Regions from separate parts of the Homo sapiens genome. Here all the other regions are linked to region 4. The links are contacts of gene promoters, found by promoter capture Hi-C in blood cells and fetal thymus (Javierre and others, 2016). All regions are on one chromosome and are shown on one strand. The core of a region is centred on a gene start or on the middle of the fragment in contact, and the rest is flanking DNA. Distances in the headings are between cores, read along the strand shown. Region 1 has its middle 95 kb from the start of LGSN. Region 2 holds the start of LGSN (lengsin, lens protein with glutamine synthetase domain). Region 3 has its middle 56 kb from the start of LGSN. Region 4 holds the start of SCAT8 (S-phase cancer associated transcript 8).

Evidence for each region. The method cuts DNA at HindIII sites, captures the fragments that hold promoters and counts their contacts. A CHiCAGO score of 5 or more calls a contact.
Region 1: a fragment that was not itself captured here is called in contact with the fragment with the promoter of SCAT8 in region 4 in 1 of 17 cell types (monocytes); the score reaches 7.0 in monocytes.
Region 2: a fragment that was not itself captured here is called in contact with the fragment with the promoter of SCAT8 in region 4 in 6 of 17 cell types (M0 macrophages, M2 macrophages, M1 macrophages and 3 more); the score reaches 10.5 in M0 macrophages.
Region 3: a fragment that was not itself captured here is called in contact with the fragment with the promoter of SCAT8 in region 4 in 5 of 17 cell types (M1 macrophages, M2 macrophages, endothelial precursors and 2 more); the score reaches 6.4 in M1 macrophages.

Annotation. Positions count from the first base shown.
Region 1 is chr6:63,412,233-63,416,734 of GRCh38, forward strand. It overlaps a transcript of LGSN not described here. Among named protein-coding and RNA genes, the nearest start is that of LGSN, 95 kb to the left of the region's middle. The HindIII fragment of the contact is 1,367 bases long and covers 1,022-2,388 here.
Region 2 is chr6:63,318,801-63,323,494 of GRCh38, forward strand. It overlaps LGSN (lengsin, lens protein with glutamine synthetase domain), which reads right to left and starts at 1,183. Exons shown (of 4, transcript NM_016571.3): 1 at 1,114-1,183. The coding sequence starts at 1,143. The HindIII fragment of the contact is 439 bases long and covers 2,823-3,261 here.
Region 3 is chr6:63,374,205-63,378,716 of GRCh38, forward strand. It overlaps a transcript of LGSN not described here. Among named protein-coding and RNA genes, the nearest start is that of LGSN, 56 kb to the left of the region's middle. The HindIII fragment of the contact is 169 bases long and covers 2,053-2,221 here.
Region 4 is chr6:63,805,137-63,809,695 of GRCh38, forward strand. It overlaps SCAT8 (S-phase cancer associated transcript 8), which reads left to right and starts at 1,700. Exons shown (of 2, transcript NR_157848.1): 1 at 1,700-1,750. EYS (eyes shut homolog) reads right to left here. Exons shown (of 43, transcript NM_001142800.2): 37 at 1,054-1,236. The HindIII fragment of the contact is 5,141 bases long and covers 1-3,404 here.

The sequences.
Region 1 (4,502 bases), core at 455-2,954, 390 kb before region 4:
GGCAGAAGCCTGTAATCCCAGCTACTCAGGCAGCTGAGGCAGGAGAATCACTTGAACCCAGGAGGCGGAGGTTGCAGTGAACTGAGATCGCCCCACTGCACTCTGGCCTGGGCAACAGAGCAAGACTCCATCAAGAAAGGAAAGAAAGAAAGAGAGATGAAAGAAGGAAAGAAAGAAAGAAAGAAGAAAGAAAGAAAGAAAGAAAGAAAGCAAGAAAGAAAGAAAGAAAGAAAAAGAGAGAGAAGAAAGAGAAGAAAGAAAGAAAGAAAGAAAGAAAGAAAGAAAGAAAGAAAGAAGGAAAGAAAGAAAGAAAGAAAGAAAGAAAGAAAGAAAGAAAGGAAGGAAGGAAAGAAAGAGGCAAAGAAAGAGGGAAAGAAAGGGAAAGGGAAAGAAGGGAAAGAAAGGGAAGGAAGGGAAGGAAGGGAAGGAAAGGAAGGAAAGGAAGAAAGAAAGAAAGAGAAAGAAAGAAAGAAAGAGGGAAGGAAGGAAAGAAAGAAAGAAAGAAAGAAAGAAAGAAAGAAAGAAAGAAAGAAAGAAAGGAAGGAAGGGAAGGAAGGAAAGAAAGGAAAGAAGGAAGGAAGGAAAGGAAGGAAAGGAAAGGAAGGAAGAAAGGAAGGAAGGGAGAGAGAGAGTAAGAGAAAGAGAAAGAAAGAGGGAGAGAAAGAGAGAGAGAGAAAGGAAGGAAGAAAGGAAGGAAGGAAGAAAGGAAGAGAGAAGGAAAGAAAGAGAAAAGAAAAGAAATGAGGGCAAGTTAGAAAGAAGAAATTGATCATAAAATCATGTGCTAAAATAAGTCAATAAGGTGAGAACAATACATGGGGTATCATAATCCCTATAAACCATTATACAAATCCTGAAAAAGTAAAAACAGTTTCTGAATTAAACTACCAGTGTTGAACACTCATATTAATAAAATGTAAAGCAACACCATACATTACAGAGGTTATGGATTATCATGGAGATCTGTATAATTAATAATAATCTATTATTATTTGACATGTAATTTTAGAGACACCATTGAAGCTTTACAAAATGAACTCTAAATGCAATTTCATTTCAACCAAGGAAACTGATAATCAAGAATAGTTATATTCTTTTCCTAAATTTATAAAACTTTTCTTCTAAGAAATGGATACACAATATTATGAAATTAATTTAAAAAGAAAGATTGGCTGACATTTATTACATAAATGGTTGTTTCTCCTAATATCTAATTTTTACTCCTCTCTTACTTAACAGATTTGTGACTGATGACATTGCTTTATGAATAGCATAAGCCCTGTTTTAACTAAGTGGATCATTGGGCTAGAAATAGAGATTCCTGTGCTGTATTTCTAGCTCTGAGTAGTTCTGTGACCTTAGGCAAACTTCTCAGCAGGAATCTCAAATTATCCTAATTAAAACTAAAATGTCATTTTCCACCCACTATATGTATTGCACAAAGGTTGTGACATGATTATCCCTCTTTTTACAAATAATTGAGTTACTTCATATAAAGGTAAAATGCCATAAAATTATTTCTACATTAATGTCATATTTAATAATCTGAAATGATTTTGCCTTAATAGGATAAGATAGTAAGTGCAAACAGAATAGAGTTCCGATTATCCTTTAAAGTTAGTAATTATTGTTAGAATATATACTAGCTTTCATGTGTATATATATAATTCATTTATATTCAACTAAATCACCATGGCTATCTTGAATATTAGAGGCAAGAGGATTCATTATTATATTCACCAATATATTCAGTATTGGTGGCTGTTATTAAAGGCTTGTAATTAATAGGGGGCCAGTCGAGAAGAGTGGCCACTGGAATCACAAACACTGTACTTCCTCTCCCATGTTCTGCTTCATAACTATGATCAAGTCACAACATCTTAGCCTCAAGACATGAAGATAATAATACTGTCTTAATTTTGTTTTGTTTTGTTTTGTTTCAGGAGAGCTAAATGGGCTGCTGGGTATAAACTATGTGGCACAGGGCCTGATGCACCTGAGGTGCCAAAAAAAAAATATTAGTCTTTATTCTTTCAAGAAATCCTATGAGATCCTTGATATTTTTGTTGTCACATACATCTGTAAAATATCCCCCCATTTCCTTGAGAACCTGTCGTTCAATAAGTATAAAGTTTCAGTTTTGTTAGATGAAAAAGTGCTATACATCATAATGTATATAATATTGTAGTCTTCAAAATTCTTAAGAGAGTAGATATGTATTCTTTAGAAAAAAACCCAAAGGGACACAATGAAACTTTAGGAGGTGTTGATTATGTCTATTACCTTGATTATGGTAATGCTATTACCAGTGTTTGCATATGCACAAACTAATAAAATTGTACATATTAAATATGTGCAGCTTTTTATATATCAATTATACCTTAATAAAGCTTTAAAAAAATAGAAAATGTGCTGGGCGCGATGGCGCGTGCCTGTAATCCCAACACTTTCAGAGGCAGTTCACTTGAGCTCAGGAATTCAAGACCAGCCTGGGCAACATGGCCAAATCCCATTTCTACAAAATATACAAAAATTAGCCTTGTGTGGTGGTGTGGGCCTGTAGTCCCAGCTACTCAGGAGGCTGAGGTGGAAGGATTGCTTGAGCCTGGGAGGCAGAGGTTGCAGTGAGCCAAGGTTATGCCACTACACTCCAGCTTGGGCAACAGAGCCAGACGCCCTTTAAAAAAAATTAAATTAAAAATGAAAACTTTAAAAATTTAAAAATGGAGACTTTTTAAAATAAAGAATAAAATAAAATATCCCCCTCAATTAGTTCATTTTCATACTGCTATAAAGAACTGCCCACAGGGCACAGTGGGACGCGCCTGTAATTCCAACACTTTGGGAGGCTGAGGCAGGTGGATCACCTAGGAGGTCAGGAGTTCGAGATCAGCCTGAGCAACATGGAGAAACCCTGAAACCCTGTCTGTAATAAAAATACAACCAGGCATGCTAGTATGCACCTGTAATCCCAGCTACTCAGGAGGCTGAGGTAGGAGAATCTCTTGAACCCTTGAGGCGGAGTTTGCGGTGAGCTGAGATTGAGACACTGTACTTCAGCCTGGGAAACAGAGGGAGACTCCATTTCAAAAAATAAAAAATAAAAATAACTGCCCAAGACTGGGTAATTTATAAAGGAAAAAAGTTTAATTGACTCACAGTTCAGCATGGCTGGAGAGGCCTTAGGAAACTTACAATTATAGTGGAAGGCAAAGGGGAAGCAAGGCACCTTCTTCACAAGGCAGCAGAAAGGAGAAGTGCCGAGGGAAGGGGAAAGAGCCCCTGACAAAACCATCAAATCTTATAAGAACTCACTATCATGAGAATGGCATGGGCGAAAGCGCCCTCATGATCCAATTATTTCTACCTGGTCTCTCCCTTGACTCGTGGGAATTATGGGGATTATGAGGACTATAATTCAAGGTGAGGTTTGAGTGGGGACAGAAAGCCTAACCATATCAACCCTCATTTCTTGAGATAGCTAGAGCGACTTCCACTGCCTAAAAGTCAAAAGAGCTTCTCCAATCATTATGCTTTGCTACTTCATGAAGTTCTAAATTGTTGATGCATTTTACTTTGCACATTTTCATTCGGTACTCCCATAGATGTTGAGTAGGTAGCGTTATGTGAACTCTCTTTAGATTCACCCGGGCATTTATTATTCTTACATCTAATACCATCAAATACATGGAGAATGCATGCATTGGGAGGAGGCCATTCATTGATCTAATAGATTAAATAAAATAAAACATCCAAAATGAAGCAAAAGGTCCTTATTCCCTGTTTTCCTGACCATTGAGAAGAGAAGACAGCTCATAAACCTAGATTATTTCATCTTTATCTCAGATTTCATCTTTCCCTTCCATTTCCAAGGGAGATGCTTTTTTTTTTGCTTTTTTTTTTTCAGAATATTCAGCTAATGGTTGGCTCCATGGCTCATCTCTGAAAAAAAAATTACTTAGAGGCAGCACGATTCATTGCTACTGTCTCAAATGCTCCTAAGACAAAGAATCTTCTGCCAACACGGGCATACATGTTTGAATTAAGCATTCCCTATAGAAGTGAGCAGTTAATGGTCCAAGGAAACATCAGATGGCATTGAGGGCCAAACTGAGAAATAATGAATATATAGATATATCTTTGATATCCTGTATCACATCCTCCCTCAAGTAACTCAGTCTTTCTTTGCACTCCTTACTCCCTACAGGCTGCCACTAATAAATGAAATTTAAAATTCTTAGAGTAGCTGAATATGGGTTAAAATAAACTGAATCTGCTCATAAATAGAGTGGTTTATGTATTTTGTACACACAATTTATAAAATACATAGTTTTTTTGTTGTTGTTGTTTTTGTTTTTTTTGAGACGGAGTTTCATTCCTGTTGCCCTGGCTGGAGTGCAATGACGCAGTCTTGGCTCACTGCAACCTCCACCTCAGCAATTCTCCTACCCCAGCCTCCCAAACAGCTGGGATTACAGGCATCCACCACCACGCCCGGCTAA
Region 2 (4,694 bases), core at 1,792-4,291, 480 kb before region 4:
AGTAGTAAGTAAAACTAGTCCAAGAAGTTACATAGTTAGAAATCAAAATCCCAAAAAGCTAATGATGTATATGCTAATTACCTTTACTTTCTTTCTATAAGCCTTCCTTTGCAGCTATGAATTTACTTTTAGCTAAATTCATTATAATCACATAAACATGTCCACCATTTGATGCCTACAACAGTGACATGACAGTACAGGATAAGCCACAGCTCCTCCTCAGGGAGTGCCTTCTTCACATAGCCTTGCCCAGTTTCCCTTAGGGAAAGTGCATTTGTTCTTGACTCTATTTCAAAACAACTGCTTGTATTCACTATACAGATCAGTGAACCCATTCTTAGATGTTAGCTATCTTCTCCACTACATGCAAAAGTGGGGACCAGGTTTGTTCTCTATATGCCACTATTTCATACATAATGCACTGGTCTTCCACTGCACTCTTCACATAGTAGGTATGCTTCTTGCATTATATTTTCTTAACCTACTAAAGATAACTCACATCCTCCCAAATTTTACCACAGCTTGCCTCCAAGTCTGCACTTCAGTCTTTCAGAATGGTCAGTCAGAAATACAAGAGTGAAGGTTGGGTACACACACATTAAGAAGTGAGGAGAAATGTTATATGTTGACAACTGATTATTTTAATATATGCTAGACCCTATAAGTGGCTATCATTATTCATGCTGTGCATTTCAAATATAATTTGAAAACAGGTTTCCACCTTTAGTCATTTAATCTCAAAGCATATTTATTAGAAAGAGGCCAAAGCTTTGAGAAAAACAAAGATTATTCTCTCAATAACAACCAAAATAGAAATAAATTTTTTTATAGCATACTTATGCTTCTGAAACTCAGTGCCTATTGAACTTAAATGATTATTCAAACCAAATGAGCTTTCCTAGATGAATATTTTGAATTGTTTAGTTTTTATTATCTTTATAAATTCACTGTGTAGTACAGAAGGGCAATTCTTCATAAACTTCTCCTGAGTGGACATATAACAAGTATAATTATGCTGCCCTTATTCTTACTGGCATTCAAATAATTGACATTTTTTAAAAAGATTTACTGTCAATATTTTGGTTAAAAACATTTTAATGATTAGCTTCATACCTCCTGCAGAAGGTCCTCTTCATTATTCATCTCAACACTTTTTAAGTTCAGCGTTAGAAACCACAATATCCTCAACAAATGCATTCAACATGTATTTATATGTGTACCTACAACAAAGACTGCAGATGATGAATTCCATAGAGGCTTTTCCAGAGGGGTCTGGCAGGTAATAAAAGATAAACATCAGATTCTGATGTGTCATGCCCAAGGCACAGTATGCTGGAAATGCACTAGAAGAATCGAATGACAAATGCTTGTTTACGCCTGACTCCCTGCAAACAAAAGACATACAAAGCTTAAAATTGTGTTGGTTGATTTTTTTCTCCAACATACAGAATTTTTGTTACATAACAATTGTATTCTGGAATGATATCTATTGTCAGATTCAGATGATGAAACACTTATTAGACGACTATGCTATCAAAGCCCACAGACAAAAGCACAGATGGAAAAATACAGCTATAAGTGACCCAGATTTTTACCAATGGCAAAGATCCACTCATTTGTAATTCTCATTTTTATTTTCTTTTCTAGGTCCCTCTGGCCTCCAAATTAATTCTGGACCTTCATTATAAAACTGAAATATCTTTCTTTAGCTTTTCCAATTCTCCGATGTCAGTCTGTGACAAATCCCAGACCATCCCCACTGTGCACAATGAACACAGAATCATCTACAGGCTGCCCCATATGGTCCCATAAACAATCCTAACTCAGTAGAGGAAATAGGGAATGCTTTCTCTTCACTAGTAAAGGGGGTTTGAAATCACACTTCTGCTGCTATCAACTCAACTTCAAGTATTGTTGATGAAGGAGGATATGCAGTTTCTTCTGAACCAAACCAAATTCTCTCTAAGCATTTTCCATGTGGAAGTGTATAGTCTCCATGGCTAATCACTTCTTCCTGGTCTTCTGGGCCTGAGGAAGACCAAGCCAATACTTACAACCACTCAATCCTGCCTGACTCTCTTGGCCCATTTCAAAAGCCCCATTTCCTAAAGACAGTGATTAACTATTCCTATTTCCATTCCATTGGTACTTGTTCCATGACTGACTCTAAAGCTTCTGCTCTGTGTAGCCTGATCTACAACCAGATCTTGAATTTGGACCTAGTTCTGATGCTGATGCCAGCCTGAAACTGCATCCTGAATATGGCTGTTTTGGACTCTTGAACCTCCCCAAGAAAAGGGATTCTATCTCCTATCCTAGTATTTGACTTGCTCTTGGTGCTTTCCCCCAGATCTCTAGTAGGGTGTTTAATTCCCACAATGTCTTGTACCAGAGCCTTACCTAAGTTTTTCTCAATCCTCTTCTGAGACCACATTTGCTTCCACTTTTACAACTTTTTCTTGCATGTGCTTGTCTCCATGCAAAACAGGTGCCATTGAGCTATGGAAAAAAATGTTTTGTGAAAAATTTCGTTTTTGTTTCAGAAATGTTCCCTTTCCTATATCAAAGAAAAGAACTCCAAGCTGGTTTACATGTTCAGTTACATATTGGGACATGTTTTAAAAAAATCATTCCTTTATAGTACTACTTACCCAAATTTTCTCCTGGGAGTTTTATTGTTATTGAATATGCAATTTGATTCATTTCATCTTCTTTTCCTTACCTTATTTTGACAATCTCTTCTTCTCAATGTGTATCCATGATTTTTTTATAATATCCTTTCCTGAACCTTGATTTGCCCATTTTTGTAAAAAGTGTTCTAAAGCTTGGTTGGACATATGGTGTATAACCTAATTTATGGTATTAGCATGATACATATTTTAAAAGTATTACCATTATTTAGAATCAGTTTTTCCAAAGGAAAAACCAAATGTCAGTAAAGGGCTTAACAAATAGATTAGAAAAATAATAAATGGTCAATAAGTCCATATTAAACACTTTCATTCACAAGCATTTGTTCAATCTGTACTATATCCAGAAAGCTATCTTAGTCAAAATGAATATAGTCATTGAGCCATGAATGTAAATGATACAAGTCTTTCTCTTACCACTCTTCTGAGACAACATATGGAAAGACCGTTCAACTCAAGTACTTCTCCTGCCAAAAAGTTGTAATCTAATTGAATGGATCCAGAGAAGAGTAACTAAAATGATTAAAGGAATTATGGGATTCATTTCATGAGAACAGATTGCAGAAGCTAAAGCTTACTAAGTACCAACAAGGGGAAACAATATGTTGTTTACCACTAAGTTACTGCCTTCTGATGAATTATTGAACAGGATTGGAAGAGCAAAGGATGCAAATTAGGTAAAGGATTAAATCTATTCTTTCACTGTGGGAGAAAATGAAATCACAATGAATCTGTTTTTGTTTCATGTTTACATATATTATATGTTACAGTACAGTGTATAAAATACAAAGTTCTTGTCTTCCCAGCACTAACTGATAAGGAAATAGGGTGAAAACATGCCCAATGAGACCAAGGGAATAACTGACTTGTGAGAATAATAGCCAAGTTCAGTGAAGGAAATAATCTTTCTTATGACCTTCATGAATCACAAAAATATGGTTTCAGGTCAGCATAAGAACATAACAACCACGACAGAAGGATACTTCCACCCTACCTTTCTCCCGATTTGTTGTTGTTCTAGAAGCTGCATGGGTTTGTTCCTCCTTTATATGCATCTAATTATGACATACCTAACAGGAAGACTACATTGACACCCTTTATTGAAGATAACATCATACAAAAATTATAAGGAGTAATATTTGAGCTTCCCTAGTGGTTCTAGAACTCCTGTTCACAAAGGCCCCCAAAAGTTCCTTTCATGAATCCAGTCCCCATTTCTTTTCAGTTCTTCCCAGAAATACCTCATTTTCTAAGAAAATGGTAGATCTGTTTACAGAATTAAGATTTAAAACCGATGATTAAAAAATATTGGAGTGAGGACAGGTAGAAAATCAGTGAATTCAGGGCTGAGCGGAAACACACATTGGCAGGGAAACTGAAGAATATTTTTGTGTGTCCTTTTCATTTGTTTCAGAAAGGGAATTTCTCCTCTCATCTGCCCCTTCGATAAACCTAAGTAAGCAATGAGTAGAAAACAGCGTAACTCCCTGAAAAAAATTATTTTGTAAAGTTGATACAATTTAAAACTAGTTTAAAATCATTTTAATTTAGCATTTTCAATGATTTTCACATATCCTTAAGCATTTATATATTTAGCACAAGCTTCATAAAGTTAAATGAAGTCAGTTGTGAAAGTGGAAGCATGAAATTCTGAATTCCAAGGCACATAAGGAGCTTGCAATCACATATAATAAGTTAAAAATTATTCCAAAACAGCCCAAGCTATTTTTAGAAGGAGAGTGCCACAGAATACATTTCTTTTTATTTGTAAGATTTATGGAGTCCAGGTGCAGTTTTGTTACATGAATATAGTGCATAGTGGTGAAGTCTTGGCTTTTAGTGTAGCCATCACCGGAATAGTATACATTGTACCTGTTAAGTAATTTCTCATCACTCATCCCACTCCACCCTTTTGAGTCTCTACTGTCTATTCACAGAAGACATTTTTATAACACCATTAATTTTAAAAAATTGGTAGCTGGTGTTGTCCTTGTTTCCTTCTTT
Region 3 (4,512 bases), core at 887-3,386, 430 kb before region 4:
GATAGAATGGTAAAACAAAATGTGGCAAAATGTTATCTTTGATGCAAATTATTTGCATCATTTTTTTCTGAAAGTAGGCAATTATTTCAAAACAAAATGGTTTCAATAGAGCGCCATGATATTTTTCTGACATTTTCTTTGAAATAGTTGATACTCCTTCTGCAAATTTTGTTGACAGTGCTTCTAGGTTCCAAAAAGAAGGGTAACGCCACTACAGCACCTTTGCCATCTGACCAGCAGCAATTCTAAGATGTCATTGATTCTAAGATGCATCTCAATTCCCAAGATGTTAAAATGAACAAAATACATCACTTAGGATCATAAACACATTTTAGTTGGAATAGACACATTTGAAGACCAGATTTGAACAATGATCCTCCCATTTAGTATCAACATTAGTTTACTACTGCCACTGTAACAAATTAACACAAATGTAATGGCTTAAAACAAGACAAAAGTGTTGTCTTATGGTTTTGGAAGTCAGTTCAAAATGGATCCACAGGGAGGCTGGAAAGTAAAATGGTTTTTCTTGTCTTCCCCAGCTTCTAGAGGCTGCTTGCATCCTTGGCATGAGGCCCCTTTCCGTTATTGTCTTCCACAGTATCCCTGATAACAAAACCTACACCTAGCTCAGGTATTACATGTGCTACTCCTGAACATCTCCATCTCTTGCTTAAGGAAATATTGCTGTGCAAGTACAGTCTTGTAATAAAAGGAAATTGTGACTGGAAAAGAGAAAAAAAAAAGTTGCTGATAATAAACATGTTAGGAAAACCTGATCTTGGGAAGACAGTTTGACATTTTGACACAAATGTTTCCTAATTATCATGGGAACTCTGTTTAGGCTATAAGACTCTATTGTTATTGATGTCATTGTTGATTTTCCGGGGCAATAAGAAAACATGTTATCAAGAATTAATTCCGTTTTTGTTTTTTAATCATTTTCTTTTTTAACCATTGACTGAGAGATACAAATTCTAGAAATTAAGGAATTCCAGAATTTTAAAATTGGGTTAAATATATCCAGAGCTGATAAAAAGCAGTATAGAGTGGCCAAAAGAATACATTATTGGTGGTCCTCATAATCAATTTGACTTTCTGTAATTGTATTAAATTAATTCTTACACATACATATATGTATATATTAGAAGAGTGCTTGACAACAATTGTATAAGTGTTAGCTATTATTACTATATATTTATATTTATATTATTATATAGCAATTATGATCTTTCTTGGCAAATATTACTACTAGTTTGCACTGAAATTGCAAGAAAAGCTGGATCATAAATGGAAACATTTTTTATTCAGATTCCCTAGGTTGATATATGAAGCAAAATATGAAAACACTTATTTATGTGGATATGTATATATTCGTCTGTACTCACCATCTACTTTATTAGTTGTTGGAGAGATTAGAGAGTAATGCATTTAAGGCAGTTTGCCTTTGGCTGGTACATTATTTTTAATAATAGGTTTTATTATTTCTCAACTTTAAGAAACTTTTTAAAGGGTCAAGATAATGCTGAGTTTGGAAATGAGATAAGAAAAACAAGAGAGAAAGATAGCATGTTAGGAAGTGAGTAGAAAATTACTTCCTTTAAGTGAGATAATTCCCTAATCAAAAATATTGCCTATGATATTGATAATAATTGCTAATGTTTTTTGAGCATATACTATGTTGTAGGTATCATGATAATCACTTTCTACATATTATCTTGTTTGGTCCTTAGAACCAAATGAAGTGAATGTTGTATTATCTTTATTTTGCCTAGGGATTAAGTAATTTTCTTAATGTCACAAATTAAATATAATAGTACTGAATGATATCAAACCCAAGCAGTCCAAACCCGTTCTAACACACTGCTATGCTCTCTCCACGATATATGATTCTTTACTCCACAGACCTTACTTCATACCAGATTATTTTGCCCATGTTCCCCCGATGCTTGCTAATTGCGCTTACATTTTCTGTGTTTTGTCTCTCTAACCATTCCTACACTCTTCAAAGGCAGAGAAAAAGCTTTCTATTTCTTTTTTACTTAACCCAAAAGCTTATTAAGGGCAGAACACAGAACGTTTCTGAAGAAACACCCTGGGCTCACAGCAGAGAGCAATGCAGATAATAAACACCAGGAGTACTATCTAAAACCTAAGAAACATCAAAATTATACCCTTTCCTCACTTTTCTTAATCAATACTTTCTATTTATTCAGAGCCAAGCTTACAAAGGGTAAAGATTGCCTTGATGAAGAGCAAGCCCTCTGTCTACTGATGCTGACATCTAGAAAAATCACTATGCTCAGATTCAATATTCTGCACTATAGCTCCCTAATAGACTCAAACAAATGGCAATGGATACACTCAGCCTTTTCTGAGCTTCTAGAAAACATTCACCTATTGCATTTCTCTTTAACTTCTTTTTTAATTATCTGACTGCCTCTTACCTGAGCCCAGTAGAATTTTAAATATGAGAAAGGAATCATCAGAGAATAGGCTTAAAATGAAAAAAGGAAATAGGAAATTGTATTTTATTTGACTTTTTAAAACTCATCTACTTTCAGATTGAGTCAGTTTGCTAGCTAAAACAAGATTTTGGGGTGAATAACTTTTACTAGAACATACAAAGTGCATTTTAACAATGGTCTACATTCACAAGTGGCCACTATTCTTGTCCAAACACAATTCAGCTGAGTGTTCCTAGGCTTCCAAACCCAGAACAAAGCAGAACAAAAGAAAAATATAGTATTTGAAGTGCCTTGCTTGTGCTTTTCTAATCTAAACAGACTGCTCCCATATTAAGAAAATTACTTTAGGTGCAAATGATACCTCAAAAAGAAGTAGATAGATATGCACTGATTCTTTTTGACATTATAATTTATAGCTTAAATTAATTTTAGACTAATTTTCCTCTTACTTAGAGCAAAATATTGCTAAGGGAACAGCCTGTCTTCATCTGACTTATAGTAAACATTTGCCACTTAGTATTCTGAAACCAGCTGGCTTTTTTAATCTTTGGCAATAGACGCTAACGTATCCTTTATGAATTATGGCAAGCCAATAGGCAGAGAGCAACCCAGAAGGTGTAAGAGGTCTAACAATCAACCAGGCAATAGAATGGGGGTTGGTAACCATCAACTGCATGCCCTGAAGGCAAATTTTCCACAGCTTTCCAGATGCTGCCATGCTGCCTCCCTCACTCCACCTTTTGCCCCAGCTCTCCAAACTCAGCCCTGGGGAGTTGGTTCATTCAATCCTTCAAAGAAGTGCAAGGATAAAGAAGCAGGAAACTAATTACCTCATGGTGTGATAAGTGCAGGATAATTCTATAGAAAGAACACCTAACGTAAACCTAGAAGATCAAAATAAGCTTCCCAGAGAAAGTGATGTTCTGACCAAGAAGAGAAGAAAAGAGTTAGACACTTGGGCCAGGCACGGTGGCTCACACCTGTAATCCCAGCACTTTGGGAAGCCGAGGCAGGAGGATCACTTAAGGTCAGGAGTTTGAGACCAGCCTGGCCAACATGATGAAACCCCATCTCTACCAAAAATACAAAAAATTATCAGGGCGTGGTGGTGTGCGCCTCTAGTCCCAGCTACTCAGGAGGCTGAGGCAGGAGAATCGCTTGAACCCGGGAGGTGGAGGTCGCAGTGAGCCGAGATCGTGCCATTGCACTCCAGCCTGGGCGACAGAGAGAGACTCCATCTCAAAAAAAAAAAAAAAAAAAAAAGAAAAGAAAAAGGATGAATAACAAGAAAGAAAAACAGCCTTATTGCTGATATGGAGAAAGGTTTTAGTGGTCTAGGTAGAAGATTAAACCAGATTTTTGAAAAAAAAAAAAAAAAAGAAAAAGAGACACTTGAAGAAGAGATGGAAAAGCAATCTAGAAAGAGAAAAGTATTTGCAAAGGATGACAGGTAAGCATGACCAAGGAACTGAAAGAATTTCAGTTTAGCTGCAGCATCTAATGAACACAAACGCTTAGGGATCTAGAGTAATGGAGACAACATCTCATATCCGCAACAATAGAAACATCTGGCTTTCTTGATCACCACAGCAGGGGAACAGACATCTGAATGACTTTTATATACTTCAGTCTAGAAGTGACACACATCACTTCTACCCACAGCCTATTGGTTAGCACTAGTCATATGCTTCTCCCACCCCACCCCCAAAATTATAATGACCTAGAAAAGTAGGGGCAGATGTAATGTTTAATGCATACCACTGTCTCAGGTATAGGCATGATATTAATGGCTGTCTTACTCTATTTGTGTTGCTATGAAGGAATATCTGAGGCTGAGTAATTTATAAAGAAAATAGGTTTATTTGGCTCATAGTTCTGCAGACTGTACAGGAAGCATGGCACCAGCATTGGCTTCAGGCCACTTCCACTCATGGGGAAGGCAACGGAAAGGCACATGCACAGAGATCACACGTGAGAGAGGAGGCAAGAGACAAAAAGGAGGGAGATGCCAGGCTCTTTTTGAATAACCAACTCTTTGGGAACT
Region 4 (4,559 bases), core at 450-2,949:
GAAAGGTCTTTTTCTGTTACAATATGTTGATCTCACAGATGAAAACACTGAACTCAGAGAAGTTAGGTGATTAATTGCTTAACTGTTGATTGCAGACTTAAAAGTAAAACATAGGTAATTTTCCTTGACTTAGCACATGCATAACTAGTTTCTACTTAAGAGAGACAAATGTAAGTTATAAGTTGATTTCCCACCAATTCCAGGGCACTAGAGTACTTTGTTACAGGCTGAGTACTTTCTTAATTTCTTGCTCCTTTAATTTAGAATGGTTTTCTTTGAGGGCAACAACCATTTCCATTTTATAACACATGGAAAAATGAGAATTTCCCTTCTCTCTTCAGACATGGAAACAGAAAGAAACAGAGGAAAGGACAAATCAATAAACTTACTTCCCATGTGACTTGGTCACCTTCCCTGTCCTCATGTTTGCCTGTAGGAATTTTTTCTTTTGATTATGAAAGGTAGCTGATATGGTTAGGTTTTGTGTTCCCACGCAAACCTCATCTTGAATTGTAATCCCCATAATCCCCAGGTGTCAAGGGAGAGACCAGGTGGAGGTAATTAAATCATGGGGGTGGTTTTCCTCATGCGTTCTCGTGATAGTGAGTGAGTTCTCAGGAGATCTGATGGTTTTATAAGGAGAAATTCTCCCCTTTACTAGGCACGTCTTCCTGCTGCCTTGTGAAGAAAGTACTCTGCTTCCTCTTCCCCTTCCACCATGCTTGTAAATTTCCGGAGGCCTCCCCAGCCATGCTGAACAGTGAGTCAATTAAACTTCTTTCCTTTGTAAATTACCCAGTCTCTGGCAGTTCTTTACAGCAGCATGAAAACTGACTAATACAGTAGCCCTGATGCAAAGTAGAGCTTCAGAAAGGATCAGGGAACTGCTAAGTACTTTGGACTACAGCGAACATGCTCAAGGCAGAAAACAGGAGGAGGCTGCATCTAGGCAAAGGTCTTTTTTTTACCACAGCCAATTAGAGTGTCCCTGAGGAATCTCTAAAGTATTCTTAAAGGAGCGAGGCAAGTCCTAGAGGGTTCAGTTAATCTTACCATGGCCTTTCTGTCCAGTAAAAAATATCAAGTTATTTTGCAGTGCTGAGTGGTTGTTTGCCAGCTGAAACTTCAGGTGGAATTCATAATGGAAGCTGATGTCTGAGATCCGTGAATAAGCCAGGAATGAGGTGTATCCAAAGGCATCTGTGCCACTGAACCTTGGCTGAGTAATATTAATAGCTGTGAAAAAACCCAAACCAAACAGTTAAAATAAACCTGTACATGTATTTGTAAAGTGAGGGTTACGTTTTGCTGATGCATCTGGCCAGATAGTCTGTTTACTATTACATTAATTATACTTTAGTGCCCTTCAGCATTGAGCAACTAAGTGACTCAACAGGAAATTTCAAAACCAGAACAAAGGAAATGCAGTGTTTTGAGATCTTCTATATAATCCTTTCACTAGCATACTCTTTCTACATAATGGATAATTTACTTAAAAAGCAAACCCCTATATTTTGAAACTTAATTTTAGAAATAGAAAAGATTACTGGCAGCCAAACAAAGTATTTACTCAGGTGCCTCGTAAACATGATTTGGCATCCAAAACCTGGATATGACTTAGAGAGGAGCTCACACCTTTGAACAAACTGTGCTTTTCTAATCCTGCACCTTTATCTGAGCCAAAGCCCCAGGTCAGGGCTAGGAAAGTCAAGAAATAGGAAGGAAATCGGTCAGTTTTCTATCATCATTGGTGAGTGACCAGAGCTTTTCTTTAAGTAAAAATAATTGTCTAAAAGAAATGTTCATTATTTCTTTGCTGAGATGCTTCTTAAGTAATAAAAACATGGAATTCAATTGGTGTGAAAGTGTAGGGAGATTTATTAAAAACAGGAAATGGTAAAATTAGATGAAGTTCAAGGGCCAGTGTGAACAAAATAGAATTTAACTGAGGGTTGCTTCTTGTATCGAACTCTTCTCTTTCATTGTACTGTTTCCTTCATAAGTCTCCACTGGTTTTTTAAATCTCCTTACCCAAAGAGGACAACAGAAAATAGAAAGGGGATTTTGACACCCCATTCCTGTCTTTTATGGATGATGTCACCAGATTAAGGGATGTTCCTAGGATCTATTTTTATTGGTTGGGGACAGCTCGGTTGAGGAAATAAGAGCTTATGTTGTTTCCTTCTCAAGAGATGTTGGAACTCCAGGGAAGCTGTAAAATTAGAATTTTTACAAGCCTTAAGAAATATACTCACTCTGGTATGTAACACTTAAAAGAGCTTCTTATGTCTGTTTATAATTGTGTATACAGCAAATAATTTAGGAAAAATGATGCTTATTATCAAAGGCTTGTATATCTTTGTTTTATATGACTATTAAACTAAGATATTTGTGTGAATAAACTGAATACTTTGTTTTGATATTTTATTAAAATCTTATCAGTTTATTATGACTATTAAACTAAGATATTTGTGTGAAGCTGAATACTTTGTTTTGATATTTTATTAAAATCTTATCAGTTTATTCCCTGGGATGTGTGGCATAGGTTAAATGTAATTTTCTCAAAACTCACCAGAATGTGAAGTAGGGACTTTTGAGACATATTGCTTCTTATACTTATTTTTTAATCTAATGAAAACTTTATAATTTGTGTCCCTGAGATAATAACACTCTCAGGTATATCACTTTCAGTAGTACTATGGGGAGGGTGATTGAGGGAAATGAAATGTACTGGAGTTGAAACAGAATAAAAATACTGACCATCATTCAATGTTGGCATTAAAAACTATGAAAATAGAATTCAGTTAAATTTAATACTAAAATAGAAAAGGAATGACTATCTTTTGCTTTTAATATTTCTTCCTGTTAATAATTTACAACTGAGTCTACCTAAAGGTTACATTTAGGCTAGATTGACAAATACGTATCTCATATATATGGTATTTTACTGTCAGAACCTGTGCTAGATGCTGGTGACACAAAGATAAAAAAGCACTAGTCACTCAAGGGATTAGTGTGAAGTCAATACATTTATTCAGCTGAACTGGACTGAAAGTTGAGGCCTGGTATAAGAACTTTCAGGCAGAAGAAACAGCATGTTCTAGGGTGTGAAGACCAAAACAGCATGTCATACTCAGGGAACTTATGAAGTCTGCAAATTTTAGAATGAAGAAGAAAAGTGAGAGTGGAAGGAAATGAAACAAGATAGACAGTGGTCAAATCATGAAGAACTATATATTTTCTTTATTATCCTAAAGTAGTTGGGCAATGATCAAAGTTGCTTTTTAGAAATATTATTCTGTTGATGAAGTGTGAATCATAGATTAGACAGAGAGCTGGAGGACCAAACTTTGGTCAAGGATGAAAATAAGAACTTTGATATCAAGAAATCTAACAATGAATTAAGCTTATGCAGAAATCTAAATGTAAGGCAATTTATGAGTAACTCATTAAGGCAATGGTGTGATATTTAAACAGCTAATGGAAATACATTATCAGTGCAATTTCATGATATAATTTTTACTATCAAAAATAAGTACTTTTGAAGTTTGAGAATAATAATGAAGACTGATGATAACCATGACCCATAGGAATGGATCTGTCAAATGCTCAGCATTTCTTAGTCTAGTGGTACCTGCAGCTGTTGAGCATTTGAATTGTGGTTAGGCCTGTGTGGGAAGGGCTCAGTATGAAACAAAGAATGTAAAATATATTATTAATAACATTCCCATATCCGTTAAACATTGGGTTAAATAAAATATATTACTAAAATAAATTTCACCTGTTTCTTTTAACTTTGAAAAATGTCGCTACTAGAAAACAAAATGACATAGGCAGCTCACATTCTATTTCTATTGAATGGCAACGCAGAGAGATCCAAGCATGTTTTGATAGGTTAAGTTCTTCCTCTAAACCGTTAGTTGTGACTTACTTCAAGGGGCTTTTTCTTTTGGTAACTTTGAACCTATAAAAAGGTAGGGCCTCTGTGGGGAGCAATAGGAATCAGGAGAAGAGGTCAAAGATAATATAATCCATCACTAAGAGGCTTCTATGTCTGCACCCACACTGTCTCTATAACTCTGAATTAGGCAGAAGAACGTGAGGGACTCAGACTAGGAGAAAGAAGACTTTCAACCTTACAAATCATTCTTTTCAATACTTTAAGCCCTTTTCCATCTTCCGCCAGGTAACATTTGGTTAATTTGGTTACTCTACTGCATAAATTCCCAGATCAGCCTTCTGGAAGGATCAGTCATCATCTAATCAGGAAATTGAACAGATTGTAATGGGACTATTTTTGGGCTATTAAATGTATATATTTTTTTAATTTTTGCAATCCCTAGTTGCCTCACAGATACCATGTGTAAAGTCATGCATTTTTTTGTCAGTTCTTCTAAAGTTACATGAATGAATTGGAAACATGAAGAAAAAAGGGAGATGCTGGAATTTAAACTAAAATAAATTGTTTAGTGTGTAGAAGAAGAAAGCAAAATCACTAATGCTCTGGGATCATTTCAGGCACAGTCAAAAGGTATCCAGACATCATCTCGGGGCATTAA